Regions from separate parts of the Homo sapiens genome. Here regions 2, 3 and 4 are each linked to region 1. The links are contacts of gene promoters, found by promoter capture Hi-C in blood cells and fetal thymus (Javierre and others, 2016). All regions are on one chromosome and are shown on one strand. Each heading gives the region's core, a stretch centred on a gene start or on the middle of the fragment in contact. The rest is flanking DNA. Distances are from core to core; before and after follow the strand shown. Region 1 holds the start of CSMD3 (CUB and Sushi multiple domains 3). Region 2 overlaps LINC02237 (long intergenic non-protein coding RNA 2237). Region 3 has its middle 590 kb from the start of LINC02237. Region 4 has its middle 560 kb from the start of LINC02237.

Region 1 (4,401 bases), core at 637-3,136:
AAAGAGAGCACTGAAAAGAAGGGACAATGTTCTGCCTGAGGGCTCTTAAAGTATCTCTCTGAATTTAATGAGGTCAGCTGGGCGTCTACAGCTTTTACCTTTTGCTACAGCTCCCTACCCAGGACAGAAATCCCTCTCTAACACACAAACACACACAGGCGTGCACACGCATATGTACTGCAAAAATACACTTGGGAAAACACCTACGCATGGCAAATCACTCTTTGTATCTTTCATAAACACGCACACTTACCTCTCACTACAGCGCGTTTATGCTCTCGCGCGCGCAGACACACACACACACACACACACACACACACGAACTGGGAGAATCACAGGCCCACACACAATGCCACGTACCCCGAGAGATCAGAAGCCTTCCTACGCCTGCAGATTGAACTCACTCGCCACTCAAACCTATGGACACTCGCAGTGTGCCCACTTCCCAGAGCGGAACTCCTTCCAGATTCTAACGCCTTCCTCTGCTGAGCGGGCAGCTCCAACGCGAGCCAAGGGACAAAGCTGGCCAGGGTAATGCTGTGGTGCACGGGACCAAACCCATTATTTGTGCACAGTGCAGGGAGCTGCAAACTCAAGTTGGGCAGTCCTCTAGACTAAGCCTTGTTGATAGACGCTCACGCCCATGATAGCCTGAGGCAGTTAAATGGAGCCACACGCAACAGCAATATCCTGTTTCAGAACTAGCGCTGTGGCACTCCCCACTGCTGAGAGGGGACCAGATTCCCGAAAAGGTCAGATCACCAATCAGTTGCCTAATCTAAGGAACTTGTTCATTGAAAGATTTGGGCCAGGACCGTGGTCGAAAAAAATCAAGGAGCACGACATACTGGTCCCGGGGACACAGCTCCCCTGACACCAAGGGATGGCAAAAACAGGGTCCCTTATACATGCGAAGGAAGAACGGGCGGCTCGGAGACGGCCAGTAGATGGCGCAAGAACTCTTCCCTTGTGCAATCTTAACCCTTGCGTGGTGCATGGGGGAAGCAGATCCAGATGTATAGATACATACATTTTTCGTTTTGAAAGAAACCTCCTATTTACATATTTGGTACCGATTCAGAATTAAGACAAATGGGTTTGTTCTAGATAACTACCACAGATAAAGTAGTTTAACTGCGGCACACACAAACTGAAAAGGGGGTTGGGAGGATGAAAGGGAGAACTATTTGAGGAAACGACATTGACTTCCCTCCCCACCCCACCCCCGCCCAGGCCACGGATGAAATCCGTTTCCCGAATCATAAAAACCCGGTGAAGGGTTTACACGTAGTTATTTGAGTATGTAAATACATGTGTTCAAATACATTCTTTTCCGTGTGAAGGCAGAATTTATTGAGAAAATTCTCTGTGATTTCCTTTTTCAATTAAATCACAGGATAATAAATGGGAGAAGCCTGCCTGAAATATACTGCAACTACAGTAGTAACACATGTCCCATTATAACGACGTGGGCATCGATGGAGCCCGATTCATTATCGTCACGGTTTCCCCAAAAGCAACACAGATCCTCCGATTAAAATATTCCTTTGACATGCTTCTGTATTCGCAGCCTGCAACGGAGAGCTCACTAACATTATTTCTTGGGCTGCTTTTACAGGCAGAATTGATCTATTCGGGGAAAAAAAGCAAGCCCCTTAATTTCAAATATTGTGTGGAGTTTATCAGAGAGCAGAGGTGGGCTTTAAGAGGCTCACTAGTGGTTTCTGGTGGTTGCTATAACGAGCCAGAATTGGGGTAGATTTTGGTGGAGGGGAAAAAACGCACAAGAAAAGACAGAATCCAGAGTAGCGGAGACTTTGTGCCCCCGTTGGAGAGATGGTTGAGTCCTCGTCAAGGTTGCTGTGGTATCCCAGAAACACCATTCACTCCGAGCTGTGACCGCGCACCAACAACAGCAACAACTCCACTGCGCCGGGCTGAGGAGCAGGAATTAGGAGCTCGCGAATAATATGAAAGGGATCCGCAAAGGGGAAAGCCGAGCAAAGGAATCCAAACCCTGGGAGCCTGGCAAGCGAAGATGCGCTAAATGTGGCCGCCTAGACTTCATCCTGATGAAGAAAATGGGGATTAAAAGTGGATTTACGTTTTGGAACCTCGTCTTTTTATTGACGGTGTCTTGTGTGAAAGGTAGGTCTGCTTTGGGGGTCCCCTCCGCTTTGGATGGAGGTGGGCTGACTTGTAGATGGAGAGAGGCTGGCAGCTTACTTTGCAATTTGCACCGATAAAATAATCTGATAATACTAAAGGAGTTGATTCACAGCTCGTTCTCCCCCCCTCAGATAGGAAATGCATTTTGCTTGCCAGATTTGGCGTTCAATGCGGTGATTGAGCTTGTGCTCAATAAATATTCTTGCAGTATGCTCAAACGAATACGTGAGTTGGTTAGTATAGCCTCTAACTAGTGGATATCCAGGCAGAATTCCTCTGCAAGACTTTTCTTAGTGGTGAGGATTACCTTGATTTCTTGTCAGATCACTAGGGCTTGAGGCTTTGGGTGGAATATATATATTAAAGACGCTGGTCTAAATGCTTTTTAACCCTTTCAGGGAAGAAAGTTATCGACGTGCTAGGAATGTGTTGATTTTAAATGCATTAGGGCACAGGGATCTTCCAAGCACTGCCACATCAACATGAATGTCTGCATGCATATGTATGTAAATTGGGCTTCTATGCAATGTTAAATGTAGGGGAGCTTCCCTAGGACCTGTGGTAGAGGTTTGGCAAAAAATGAGGCTTTCGAAGGGTCTGAAATGCCATGAAGTGTAAAGAACCACCTTAAGGGATGAATGAGGTAGGAGGAAAGTCATTAGCTGACGACCAAAAGAAAATCCCCAGCAAGTCTCAGCGTTCAGACAGGTAGAGTGAGTGTCACATGCACAGATAGGGGAGGGGGTAGGTGGGATGTAAAAATGTATTCCCAAGCAGGAAGGCAAGGGACAGTCAGGATCATGGGAAAAAGAGCTGTCCTTAGGGAGAAAATAGATCCATAGCTCTCTTCCACAACTTCTCCGGCACCCTGCTGCCCATTAATTGCTGCAAAGAATACTCAGGAGGTGTTTATGACTCATGCCATCATTTTTTGAACAATCACCTCTCCATACTCATGGCAGCTCGAATAGACGCTATGGATGCCGCTTTCAGTGAAGCTAGTTTCAAATCCCGGGTGTCTGTGTGTCGCGGGGGGGCGGGGGATCGCGGGAAAGGGGGTGCTGTTTTGGCCCAGGCGCGCCAGGGCTGTCAACACAAACTGGACGCTTCTTCCTTTGTAAAGGAGTGCCTCTCTGAACTGCAATCGGGCCGCGTCTCTATGAAACAGTTTATTGTCCAGCTTGCAGCTGGCTGTCCCCCCACGGAAGGCAGCTCATTTGCATTCAGTGGAAATGATAATTCATGTTTTGGGAGGAGGGAGCTGGAGAGGTTACCTTTCCCTCTACTATAACCAATGATGGGTGGCATGTCTAGAATTTTAATTTACATCCCAAAATGCCAGGAAGTCAGTCGCCCCGGTCTCTGTGGCAGCAACTGCCTTGTAATCCCAACCTGCTCCTTGAAGCTTGATTTTTCTTTTCTCTCTGGGGCCTCAGAGCAGCTCTGAGCCGAAAAGCTTGTCCTAAGTGGCACAACTACACTGCCAAATGTACAAAGCACGGCTCAGGTTGCTTACAAGGTTTCTTTGTCGCTGGCTCGACGGGTGAGGAGCCACACATTTATGCTTAGTTCGCCTGCCACTGGGAGTTGGTGGTTAATGGATGGCCCTGGGGCTGCCTGCTAGACGCGCGCTTCGCGTGGGGGAGGCGCGAATAGCCAGCAGCAGCCCTGGCAGAAAAATGTAAGGGTGGCTCCTGTGAGAAGATGACCAGGGTTTAAGTGCGAGTTTTCATGTGATACCTGTTGAGCCAAAACACATTCGGGGGCAGATGAGGGGGAGGGAAGTCTCCGAAGCGGGGCGAGCATTACAGCCTGACTAACGCTGATCCGCGCCGCCTGCAATTAGAGCCCCGGCTGCCCGCACCTACCGTATTTTCCGAATGAGATGCGCCGATAGAAAGGAAAGGCGCGTTAATTTACTTTGGACTGATATAATCGGTTTAGCTTTGGAGATATTGAGAAGGAAGAGTATGTCATAGCCTTCTTTGATCCTGTGCAAAATCAATATTCTACAGACTATACGTAAAAAACATTTTTTTTCAATGTCAATAAAGTTATTGTCACTCATCGGGCACTTGGAAGGCATCTCCTACATTTTACGACTTGGAATACTGTCCCCAAATTCTGAGAAATTTGCATAGGTTTTATGTTTTAGACCTGCTGTCAATCTCCGAATGATGCCAATTTTGATAGTTGCTTTTTACTCTCCCTTTCCTCATTTTATTTTAATTT
Region 2 (4,414 bases), core at 584-3,083, 2.0 Mb after region 1:
ATATAGTTGTCTGATTCAGTAAAATGAAATTCTTTCACTATCATTCTATAGTGAGTTTCTAAAAAGTTTTTAAATTTTAGTTCATATAGACATTAAAAAAATAACTGCATATACTACATAGACTAGGTTGGGTAAAGATGACACAAGACAAATATATATATATTCACCAAATATACAACAGATATAAAACACCTTACCCATAATTGATATTATAATTTTAAAAAGGAAACCCCACTATGGGTGGAATTGAAATAATTTTTTCATGATGAGCTCCAAGTGTTTATTGAAAATAGATTGAACTAAGCAAATAAGATGAAAACTATCTGCCAATTCATCAGTAGCTTATTAGCTATTGATATAAAAGAATTTTCCATTAATTTTTGTATTCTCAATGCCCAGTACATTGGACCCTATATTAATTTTCCAGGAAGATATGATGAGAGCTGGGGACCCATTTCTGTATCATATGTCTTCTGTGTACTCATAACAGAACTGATAATCACGGAAAGGATAAAACCTTTGCATGAACACAACAGCTTCAAATACAGATTTAACACATAACTTTTGCCCAATTTTCATTGAACTTCTGCAACTGTTCCTTTTCATTTATATCCTTCACTTTCCCATTTAAAAGTGCTAGATCTTTGGGTAAAAACACAGTTGATTTGAAATAATGGTGGCTATCTGAATTTTTATTCTAGCTTGAGGCATTTGTGTTTTTTTTTCAAAATAATAAAATAGCTGAACACCTCAGTCGTGGATTCATTATACATAGAAATTAATATTTTTCATATTTAAAACTGCTTTAAGATAAAAACAAAAATTAAATGTGATAGGTGACAGTTTTAATTTTGTGACTAGTTAAGATTACTTCAATTTTGAAGTTTTATTGTGTATTTAGTAGAATATATTTTGAAGTGCACTAGTTACAGTATAATTTTATAACATCTTCTTACTAATATATAAAACAAACTATTTTAGAATAAAAATAGGCTTTGGTTCATTATCTGTGTCTCTGTTGCCTGAGTCTTGTAAATGAATATTACTTATTTATAAAAAATTTTAATTGCATATTGTCTGTGACTGCTGTATGCCAACAAGGTAATAAAAAGGTTATAACTGAGATAACTTTGCTGACTATGAAAACAGATGTCCCTTCCTTGTCTATTTTTTTACTATGCTTTAAATTTCTTCATTTTATAATCTCACATAATATTGTATAGTATTATGGGTTTATTTGTGTTTTTCCCTCATTAGAATATAAGTTTTAAGAAAGAGGCTATTTTCTCTGCTGTATCCACAATGGGAAATATAATAAATGCTCCATAAATATTTATTTAATAAATATGTACTTAAATCTGCAAAATACAGTTTTAATTTAAAACTAACTTAATTGTATTGCAGTTTTTTGGTGATATGTAAGAAATCAATATGATAAGATTCTACAAAATGTCTACTTTTGTAGACTAAGTTCAATTAGATAGACTAAGTTCAATTAGATAGACTAAGTTCAATTAGATAGCGGTATTTATTAAGTAAAATTACCTAGTTTCTTGTATAAAACGAGAAAAAATTCAATTTTAAGATTACAATATTGATGTCAAATTTAAATACCAATGGAGGCCAAGCTTATTTTCTCCTTAAATGTTTTGAAAAATATATGGACAATCATTTTTATTTTCCATTTTCCTACACTCAAAATATATGTAAAATAAAGTAGATATTATACTTGGCATGTAATGAGACAAACCCAGTCCAACATGCTAAAAGAATTTCTTTAAAATGTATTATCTTAGTAGGTAGTATTTGATGTAGCTAACATTACTAGAAGGTTGTTTTATAGTTGACAACTCCATTTAAGCAGAAGAGTTTGGATATTCAGCAACATGGTCCAAGGTTTATTTTCACCTCAGGTTAATAGGATTGTTTTTACGGAGTAGTGTTAACATGCCCTTTTCTTGTTTTGTTATCACCTTGTGTTTCTTTCTCAGTACGGTTTTCATATCTCTGGTTAAAACCTCCCGGGAGAAAAGCTTTAACACTAGAAAGGTACATTTTCCCCTAGGTTGCTCTGCCACTGCTTGCTTAGAAATTGCTGTGTATTATGGGACAGGAAAAGGAAGAAAAACAAATAATAGCTGAGGCTTTCTATTTATTAATCCCAGCTGAAGCGAGTAACACTAGCAAATTTCTGAGTGCATCTTTCTGTAGCAACCAAAACTAAGGCTATCAAGTGACGAAGCTTATTTCAAGTGGGAAGGAAAGTCATATGAAGTTTTCAAAATTAAAATATTATGATCTTTCTTTGTTGTGTCTATTCCTACAAAATGCCAAGAGATTAGTTGAAATAACTGAATTCTGCTCAACAGTTTTGTTGACATTTACAGATACTGTGGTAGGAAGAAAAATAGCCCACAAGAGATGCCCATGGTCTAATTCCTGGAAACTGTGAATATGTTATGTTATGCTGTAGGAGGGAATTAAGGTTGCAAATATAATTAAAGTTAGTAATCAGCTGACCTTGAGATCAGAAGAGTATTCTGAGTTATCTGGGATTTAATGTAATCACTGGAGTAATAATAAATGGGAGAAGGTCGCAGGAGAGTCAGTTACAGTATGTAAATTGAGAAATAACTATTCTTTGCTTTTTTTTTTTTCTTCTTCTTAAGACGGAATTTTGCTCTTGTTGCCCAGGCTGGAGTGCAATGAGGTGATCACGGCTCACTGCAACCTCTGCCTCCCGGGTTCAAGCGATTTACTGCCTCAGCCTCCTGAGTTTGCTGGGATTACAGGTGCCTACCACCACGCCCGGCTAATTTTTTTGTATTTTTAATACACAGAGGGTTTCAACATGTTGGCCAGGCTGGTCTCAAACTCCTGACCTCAGGTGATCTACCTGCCTAGGCCTCCCAAAGTATTGGGATTACAGGTATGAGCCACCGCGCTCGGCCCCATTCTTTGCTTTAAAGATGGAAGACGGATATGATCCAAAGAATGTGAGCAATCTATAGAAGCCAAAATTGGCAAGAAAAACAAAAATTCTTTAGAGACTACAGAAAAGGACGCATCCCTACCAACTTTTGGCCTTTTGGTCTTTAAAAGTGTATGGTGATAAATATGTGTCTTTCTAAGTAACTAAATTTATGGTAATTTGTACCATAATAGGGATGTTACAACACAGTATAGCAATAGGAAACTCACAGAGATACTTGATTGAATTAGCAGATTTTCCTGTGCCAAAGTAAACAGCAGTCAAAAACATGGAGCTGTAATGACTCTGAGGTAACAGTTAATGTTTCTGCAAATAAGACTATGTAAACAAATTTCAAAAAATTGCAAAAAAAATCCCGGAATCTAAGGCTAGGTGAAAAGTTTCTAGAGTTGACACCAAAAGCATTATCCATGAAAGAAATATGAGAAATTGAACCTCATCAAAATTTTTTTAAATTCCTTTTTTGAAATACTTACTAAATGGATAAAAAGACAAGCTATAGAATAGGAGAAAATATTTGCAAATCACATATCCAACAAAGGACTAGTATTTAGAATATAAAGAGAACTCTCACAGCTGGATAGAAAACAATCCAAACAGAAAATGAACATATGCTATTGTTAAACAATTCATCCCAGTATATGAGCATAATGAAATTTAAAATTACTATTTTATCACATTTGAAAGCTGGGGCTATGTATTGATCCATGATTCTTGGTTTACCATATTTTTACTTTCAAAAACCTAAAATAAAACTACTACATCTGTATTCTTTGTAGAAAAACACTTTTATTATTTTGGACAAATCTGTAATAGTTGCTAAAATTTGAAGATTTTGTGGGCCTCAACTGCTCACAAAATGGAATGCTAAACAAGGTTTCTTTTAAACTGGCTTCATATCAAAGACATCCTTATGTGTTCCTAGACAGGTGAAGTAGTATATACTTTCTCTTCTCCTAGAAGTAACCAGGTTCCTTTCACCTTTCAATCTTTCTCCTCTCCAAGACAGTAACAATCACAGTTTAGTTTCCCTTTAGTTCCAACATTCTTTCAGATTTCCACTCCTCTGTGAAAATTTCTGTTCAAAAATTGTATTAAAAATGAGCTTCTGATTTAAATGAGCTAAGTAAAAGGAAAAGAAAGTACAAAAAGCTAACAAATGCCTCCCTGTGCTGACCCAAGCTACTCATGTCCTAATCCCCGGAACCTGTGAATATGTTACTGTGTCTAGTAAAAAGGACTTTGCAGATGGGATTAAAATTAAGGATATTAAGTTAAAGAAGTTATCCTGAATTATCCACATGGGCCCAATGTAATCACAAGGGTCCTTATAAGAGGAAAAGAAGGAGATTTAATTATAGAAGAAGAGCGTCAGTATAATGTAATATGACAATAAAACTCAACCAGTGATTGTAACTTGGA
Region 3 (4,281 bases), core at 1,490-3,989, 1.5 Mb after region 1:
GGAGGAAACCCATAATCTATCAAGAATCTCTGAATTTTTTTTGAAGTAATAAAAAGTAAAATTTGACTTTAAGCTAGAGATAATAAGTCCTTAGTTGTTACTTTAGCTGAATAAATATGAGCAGGTCTTGACCAAATTTCACCCTCCTGTGTAAATAGAAAATATAATTTAAATATCAATGTGACTAAATCTTTGAAATATCTATCATGTATAAAATGATTTTTCTCTATCTTGTTTTTCTAACGTGCAAAAAAACTGTATTTTGTTTACATTGCATCAAGAAAGCATACAATATTAGAATTCAAAAAAGACATACAGTTGGACAGTATCAGATGGCATAGAGCTTAGGAGATTTTTTGATAGGCAGCTCAGGCAGAGAGAGGCCACAGATGCACATTTCCCAGAGCTCTCTATCCCCCTCTGTGAGGGGCTTTTCCCAGCTGACCTCCAAGCCAGTAGAGAGTGGGGCTAGCTTCCCTGTGGGACTGGGGTATGTCTGTTCTAAAAGGGACCATGCCTAGCCACCTTGGGTGAATGTGTACATAGCACAGCTTCTGAAACTCAACATAAGTGCATTGTTTCACCTGAGTACTTTCCTGGTAACCCAAGAGCAAATTGGATCCCCCAGTGCAGCCAAAACCTGACCCCAAGCTGTAAGATGCCACAGTGCCTCTAGGCTGCAGTTCATAGCTCAGGAATATGAAATTTGTGGCAGGCATTTGAGCAACAGGGAGGAGCCTTCACCCTCATAGAACTGAGAGGGGACAAGATGCATGGATTCTTAGGCCAGATCTAGAGCAGGGCATGTCTCCCTCCACAGGGCTAGTCCAGAAAGGTGTGGCATACCTACCTGCCATAGCTGCTGCCTGAGTGGGTCCCATTACCCGTAACACCTAAAAAAAAAAATGAACTTGCAGCATCAGAGATCAGAGGAGGCTCCACCAAGGCCCAGGAGTGGACCTGAGGGGACCATCTTTTTCCACCTCCACTGCAGACCTCACATGTGAATGCCAGGAAGTACAAAAGAGCTGCACTACTGGGTATTAGTCTAGCTACTGGACATTACTCTTAAGTGCCATCTACTGGATTGCAGCCCAAACTACAACATCAAAAATTATCTTGCTAATTATATGCTCATATGAAAACAAGTGCAAGAATTTACCTACACATAAAGATACCATACAGAGCCCTGACACTCTGAAAGCATCTAAAATTGAAGCCAACTGATGGTACTCAACTGATACCTCAGTAAAGAAACACCAATTCTCCCAGATGAGCAAGAATCAGCACAAGAACTCTGGCAACTGGAAAAGCTAGTGTCCTCTTACCTCCAAATGGGTTCACTGGCAATAGCTCTTAACCAGTCTGAAATCACTGAAATGACAGACACAAAATTCAGAATCTGGATGGCAAGAAAGCACACTGAGATTCAGGAGAAAGTTGAAACCCGATCCAAGGAATCCAGTAAAATGATCCCAGAGGTGAAAGATGAAACAGCCATTTTAAGAAAGAACCAAACTGAACTTCTAGAGCTGAAAAATTTAATGCAAGAATTTAATAATACAAAAGCAGTATTAACTACAAAATAGGCCAAGCTAATAAAAGGATCTCAGATCTCAAAGACCAGTTCTTCAGAACAACTCAGACAAAAATAAAGAAAAATCATTTTAAAAAATTAATGAAAACTTTGAAAACTATAAAATTATGCAAAGAGATCAAATCTACACCTCATTGGCATTCCTGAGAGAGGAGCGAGAGTAAGCAACTTGGAAAATATATAAGAATATAGTTTATGAAAATTTTCTTAACTTACTACAGAGGTTGACATTCAAATGCAATAAATACAAATAGCCCTAGCTAGTACTATACAAGATGACCATCCTTCAGGCACATAATCATCAGATTTCCAAAGTTAATGCAAAAGAAAAAAAATCTTAGAGGCAGCTAAAGAGAAGGGTCAAATCACATACAGAGGGAATCCCATCAGGCCAGCAGCAGATCTGTCAGCAGAAACCTTACAAGCCAGAAGAGATTGGAGGCCTATTTTCAGCATTCTTCAAGAAAAAAAAATCAACGAAGAGTTTCATATTGCACCAAACTAAGCTTCATAAGTGAAGGAGAGAAAATATCCTTCTCAAACAAGCAAATGCTGAGGGAATTTGTTTCAACTAGACCAGCATTACAAGAGGTCCTTAAGGGAGTGCTAAACATAAAACCAAAAGAATGACACCTGCTACCACAAAAACACACTTAAATAAACACATAATCCACAGGCACTATAATGTAAGTACACAATCAATTCTACATAACAACCAGCTAACAACACAATGACAAGAATGAAAATCACACACGTTAATACTATCTTGAATGTAATTGGGTTAAGCATCACTTAACCCAATTAACATCACTTAAAAGACACAGAGTGGCCAGCTAGATAAAAAGACAAGATCCAACATCTTTTCCCTTCAAGAGATCCATCTCACATGTAACAGCATCCACATGCTCAGATTAAAGAGACAGAGAAAATTATACCATGCAAACAGAAAAGTAAAAGAGCAGGAGTTGCTAATCGCATGTCAGGAAAAACATACTTTAAACCAACAAATATTAAGAAAGATAATAAAGGGCATTATATAATGATAAAGAGTACAATCCAACAAGAAGACTTAACTATCATATATATATATATATATATATCCAACATTGGAGCACCCAGGTTCATAAAATAAGCTCTTCTTGGCTTATAAAAAGACATAGACAATCCCACAATAATAACAGAAATCTTCAACACCCCAGTGACGTGACAGTGCAAGATAGATTGCCAAAGCAGAAAACTTACAAAGAATCGCTAGACTTTAACTTGACACTTGACCAATTGAAATTAATAGGTATCTATAGAACAGTCCACCCAACAACCATAGAATATACATTCTTCTCATCTACACACAAAACATATTCTAAGATTGACCACATGACCCATTATAAAGCAAGCTCAATACATTCAAGAAATTGAAATCATACCAAGCACACTCTTTTACCACAGTACAATAAAAATAGAAATCAGTATTGAGAAGGTCTCTCAAAAACACATAAAAACATAAAAATTGAACACCTTCTCCTGAATAACTTCTGGATGAACATCAAAATTCATGCAAATATAAAAAAAATGAAATTAAGAAAAATGGAAACAACATACCAAAATCTCCGGGATGCAGCTAAAGCAATGATAAGAGGAAAGTTTTGTAATTAATTTTATTTTTATTTTTAATTATTTTTTTTTTGAGACAGTCTTACCCTATCACCCAGGCTAGAATACAGTGGCACAATCACAGCTCACTGCAGCCTTGACCTCCCAGGCTCAAGCAATCAAGCTTCCCACCTCAGCCTTCTGAGTAGCTGTGACTACAGCCATGCCATCTGGCAAATTTTTAAACTTTTTGAAGAGACAGGGTCTCACTATGTTACCCAGATTGGTCTCGAACTCCTGGGCTCAAACAATCCTCTTGCATTGGCCTTCCAAAGTTCTGGAATTATAGGAGTGAGCCACCACACCAGCTCATAATAGTGAAGTTTTAAAAATCTCTTTTGAGACATTCTTAGCTAATTGCATATTTTTGAAGGAAATTCTGAAATTCTTGGCATGAGAGCATAAAACATTTCAATAAACAAATAATAATCCTAACATCCTAAAAATCATACTGAACTATTTCTATTTATATTAATATTTTATTATTTGACTTAGTCATGTAGCATATTTGTCTTTAATATTATATAAAATGACATGTAAGAAAGAAAAATCATAGTTTCTGCTAGAGGTTATTTACCATGATTTTAAAGAAATTTGAGAAGTGTGACCGAATTTTTTTGAAAAGTAGATTTTTTGGATTCATACTAACATATCCATTTTTTTGAGTTTGACTACCATTCAGATAAAAGGGGTAGGTTTCCTGTTATTATAATATTATTTGATAGGTATAACAATAAAACTTTTATTGTGGTAAGAAACATAACACAAGATTTACCCTCTTATCAAATTTCTTTTCTTTTTCCCTCTCATCAGATTCCTAAGTGTGTACATTACAGTATCATTAACTAATAGCACTATGTTGTACAGCAAATTACTAGAATGTAAACATCTTACATAACTGAAATTTTATACTAATTAAACAACTCCCCATTTTCCCCTCCCACCAACTCCTGACAGACAACATTCCCATCTCTGCTTCTGTGAGTTTGGCTATCCTAAATATCTTCTACAAGTAGAACCATGCTGTATTTGTT
Region 4 (3,785 bases), core at 136-2,635, 1.5 Mb after region 1:
TGGTTTTAGAACTATTACTATGATTAAACTTCATAATGCATTATATGCAGATCATGGTTGGTAAACTAATAAAATTGGTGTTTGCATGTATTATAGTGAAAGTAAAGCTGAGTTACATCAAACTAAAGTTAGCAAATCCAGAGCTACCTGAGATCATATAGAATGCAATATAAAGAAAAGCAATCTATATACATGCTAAACGTGAGATAGTTTCCTATATTTTTTTTTCTCTCAGGATATTATAGTAGCTCTATCTAGTGGTCACATACAAATATTACACTTAGCTAATAAATAGAAATTAAGAAACATGCTCTAATGTGCTATTACTGTCAATTCACTTTTTGCAAACTGAATGCCAAATGATTTAAAGATACATACATTTCACCTCATCTTATTCATTGGTATTACCTTATTTTAAAATTCTTTTTTTTAACTTAAATTGTGGTAGAAACACTTAGCATGAGACCTACCTTCCTAACAAATGTTAAAGTATACAATACAGAATGCTTACCTGTAGTCACAATGTTACACAGCAGATCTCTAGAACTTACTCATCTTTTATAACTGAAACTTTGCCTCCCTTGAATGGCAACTCTCCATTTTCCCATTCCCTCTGCCCCTGATAAAAACCATTGTACTCTCTGCTTTTATGTGTTAGAGTATGACAGAGTCATTTTTAAGCCAGGCTTATTCATTAAAATTGAGGATTTGGGTTTGTATTTTCCTGCCATTGATTTTGATGCAAAACATAATTTAAATAATGAAAAATTTTAACAAATTTAAGAAGCTATATTTTGAACTTACAAGTTAGAGGAGAATATAAAATGTGATCTTAAAACTTTGATGATATATAACCATAGCGGGGTCTATCACTTATGAAAAATTGTTGAAAAATATTTTTACCAGGCCAAAATTATGCCTTCTGATAAAATGATATTTTGCTGTGGGATAAAATTTTACTTATTATCCAAAAGCTTTGATATATTATATAAGTAACACATAATCTAATTTTAATGCCTTCATGTAAACAATGGCTTTTTAGCTATTGTCATAAAAAATTAATCAAATCCTAATGACTTCAAATAACAATATTTTATTGATTTCATGAGTCTGTGTGTCATCAAGATGGTTCTGCTAATCTGGGCCAGATGTCATCCTCAGCTGAGCCCATTCATGCATCTATGGTCAGTTGCCAGATCACCTGCCAGGTCAGCTGGGGACTGGATGGTCCAGTAAAGTCTCAGGTGGTATGATTCATCTCTCACCTTCCTTTAGGCCAGCTAGGATTCTTCACACAATGTCTGGGTAGGGTTTCAAGAGAAAGGACAGAAATTTACAAAGCCCCTTTGAGGCCTAGAGTTGGAATTGGCACCACATTACTTGTGCTGCGTTTTGTGACCAAAAGAAGTCACAAGACAGGTAAAGGGAAAGAAAAGAGACTCCTCTCTTGATGTGAGCAGCTGCAAAGTCACACTGCAAAGGGTATGGATGTAGAAGTGAATTATGGTCATATTTCCAATCTACTATGAGTTTTAAGGAATTATTAAAATATAACTTTTTTTTATTTAGAGTAAGAGTTTCACAGATATTTGTATAACTTAACGTGATGCCTTTTTTAAGTTCATGAACAAAATTTTATATCTTTCTTGCTAAATTTTAAGAGTCATAAATATCTCTCTTTGGTAGGGACAGGTCAATAAATAGCTTTGTTTATAAATAAAATAAGATTAATTGCAACTTAATTTATTTTAGCTGTATGCCCAAAAAGAATACTCCTCAGTGAAAATAAAAGCTTTGGGCTAACACATGTTCTCACTTATAAGTGGGAGCTGAATGATGAGAATACATGGACACATGGTGGGGAATAACACACACTGGGCCCCGTCAGAGCTGAGGGGTTAGGGGGAGGGGGAGCATCAGGAAAAATAGCTAAGGGATGCTGGATTAAATACTTAGGTGATGAGATGGTCTGCACAGCAAACCACCATAGCACATATTAACCTATGTAAGAAACCTGCACATCCTGCACATCATATACCCCTGAACTTAAAATAAAAGTTGAAAGGAAAAAAAAAAAAGGTTTGGGCTAAGAATCCCTGAGTCCTATTGATACATTTATCAGTAGCATTGTTTCAGGAAAATCATTTCCCCTCACTAGTTCCTTGCTAACCCATTTGTACAATGAAATAATGGAGTTGGGTATACTCCAAGATTTCTTCTAAATCTTCCAACTTTTTTTTTTAGTGTTTCTTCTAGTATTCTCTGTGACAAACACATACACACGCACAAACACAAACACACACACTATTTACTCTGCTAAATGCAATCAAGAATATTCTAACTAGTAATTAATTTCCATTCAATTAAAAACATCTAAATATTGCCTAGACTAGGATGTATCAGTCAAAGACAAAGTAATTATTTTAAAAATACCTTTGTAACAATTATAACCCTGATTCATATTCTTTTAACATGTATTTTCAAGTCAACATTCTCTAAAAACAAACAAGCAAAACCCCCAAACGCCCCATTATTCCCTATATCAATTGAAATGGCTTTGTAAAAGATATACTAGTATATTGTGTTTTCAATTATTCACAATAACAAAAATGCTACAATGAGCATCTATCTATCTCTCCAGCTACCTTTATCATCTATGCATTTGATTTATCTAGAATGGCTACCAGAGGAGGAATTATTGGGTCAGAAATATATGTTGTTTTGTGTCAGATATTCACTCGCAGACAAGCAAGTTCGCACCAAGTGTTTCACATCAAAGGGTAAAAGACGCATAGCACCAAACACAGAGTCTAGCAATCCTAAGGTGAATGAGCTCTGTACGCCTTTAACAACTTAAACTCTAGTGGAGTGTGTTCATGAATAACCTGCTGTGGATTATTTGGATCAGGCCTTACAGAAATAGGAAAAGCAGAAGGTCCTAAGGGGTCTCCAGCTATGGCAGCAGAGCATAAAATCCTTTGTATTTGGGTTTCTATTTCTGCTACCGAAGCAGAGGAGGCGGTATAGGCCAATTTTTATCCTCCCTCTCCTGTTACTCTGATTCAGAAAACTTCCTGTTCCCAGTACTTCTTTAAAGCACTGCTCCCAGCACATCTTTAGGGACCTTATATCCACTGCCGGCAGACTTGTCCCAGGGTCCCTGTCTGCCTTGCCAATTTCAGTTCCTCTGCTTCAGTAGACCTTCTTCGTTCACATCCTTGAAGTCCCGTGTTCAGGCACCACTTATTGAGCACCCGATTCCATCCCTGTTCGGGCGCCACTATGTAACCCGCACAGACCTAGGGGGATTAAACAAAGGGGGCAAACACGGAAATAAAAGACAAGAGACAAAAGAGTATATTTGGAAGAAGGGGTCAGGGGGCACGTTGCCTCTAGTGGACAAGGGCCCTGAGCTTTACACAGCTCTCCATATTTATTAGGCAAAAGAGATTGTGAGAAGGGTGGTGGAAGAAGGGGTCAGCTGCTCAATCCAGAGTAGGCTTGCAAGACTGCATTCCTCAAACAACAGGCTCTAGATGTCGCAGTAGATAACCTCAGCACCAGGGAGTGATTGCCTCCAGCAAACCTTCTATTGCCAGGAGCAGTTGTGAGTTTGCTCACATCCTGCATTCATGACAAACAGCAAACTGTTTGATCATATAGCCTCCATTGGAATGCTGAGTTGGTCAGGTCTCATGGGCCTTCAGCTCCCTACAGTTTTGCTCTAAAAAGCTGAGCTTATGGTACTAATGTTGTTTTTGAAGTTTGATAAAATGTAACACTGT

What was found. Contacts are between HindIII fragments. The CHiCAGO score rates a contact against its expected background, and 5 or more counts as called.
Region 2: a contact is called between a fragment that was not itself captured here and the fragment with the promoter of CSMD3 in region 1, in 1 of 17 cell types (endothelial precursors). The highest score is 7.2, in endothelial precursors.
Region 3: a fragment that was not itself captured here is called in contact with the fragment with the promoter of CSMD3 in region 1 in 3 of 17 cell types (monocytes, M0 macrophages and M2 macrophages); the score reaches 9.8 in monocytes.
Region 4: a contact is called between a fragment that was not itself captured here and the fragment with the promoter of CSMD3 in region 1, in 3 of 17 cell types (monocytes, M2 macrophages and megakaryocytes). The highest score is 6.1, in monocytes.

What each region holds. Positions count from the first base shown.
Region 1 is chr8:113,434,424-113,438,824 of GRCh38, reverse strand. CSMD3 (CUB and Sushi multiple domains 3) reads left to right here and starts at 1,886. Exons shown (of 71, transcript NM_198123.2): 1 at 1,886-2,148. The coding sequence starts at 1,971. RefSeq lists enhancers at 452-952, 965-1,014, 2,792-3,302. The HindIII fragment of the contact is 6,354 bases long and covers 1-3,576 here.
Region 2 is chr8:111,436,504-111,440,917 of GRCh38, reverse strand. The region is part of intron 2 of LINC02237 (long intergenic non-protein coding RNA 2237); the gene reads right to left. Among named protein-coding and RNA genes, the nearest start is that of LINC02237, 62 kb to the right of the region's middle. The HindIII fragment of the contact is 405 bases long and covers 1,631-2,035 here.
Region 3 is chr8:111,961,193-111,965,473 of GRCh38, reverse strand. No RefSeq gene overlaps it. Among named protein-coding and RNA genes, the nearest start is that of LINC02237, 590 kb to the right of the region's middle. The HindIII fragment of the contact is 1,268 bases long and covers 2,106-3,373 here.
Region 4 is chr8:111,931,043-111,934,827 of GRCh38, reverse strand. No RefSeq gene overlaps it. Among named protein-coding and RNA genes, the nearest start is that of LINC02237, 560 kb to the right of the region's middle. The HindIII fragment of the contact is 818 bases long and covers 977-1,794 here.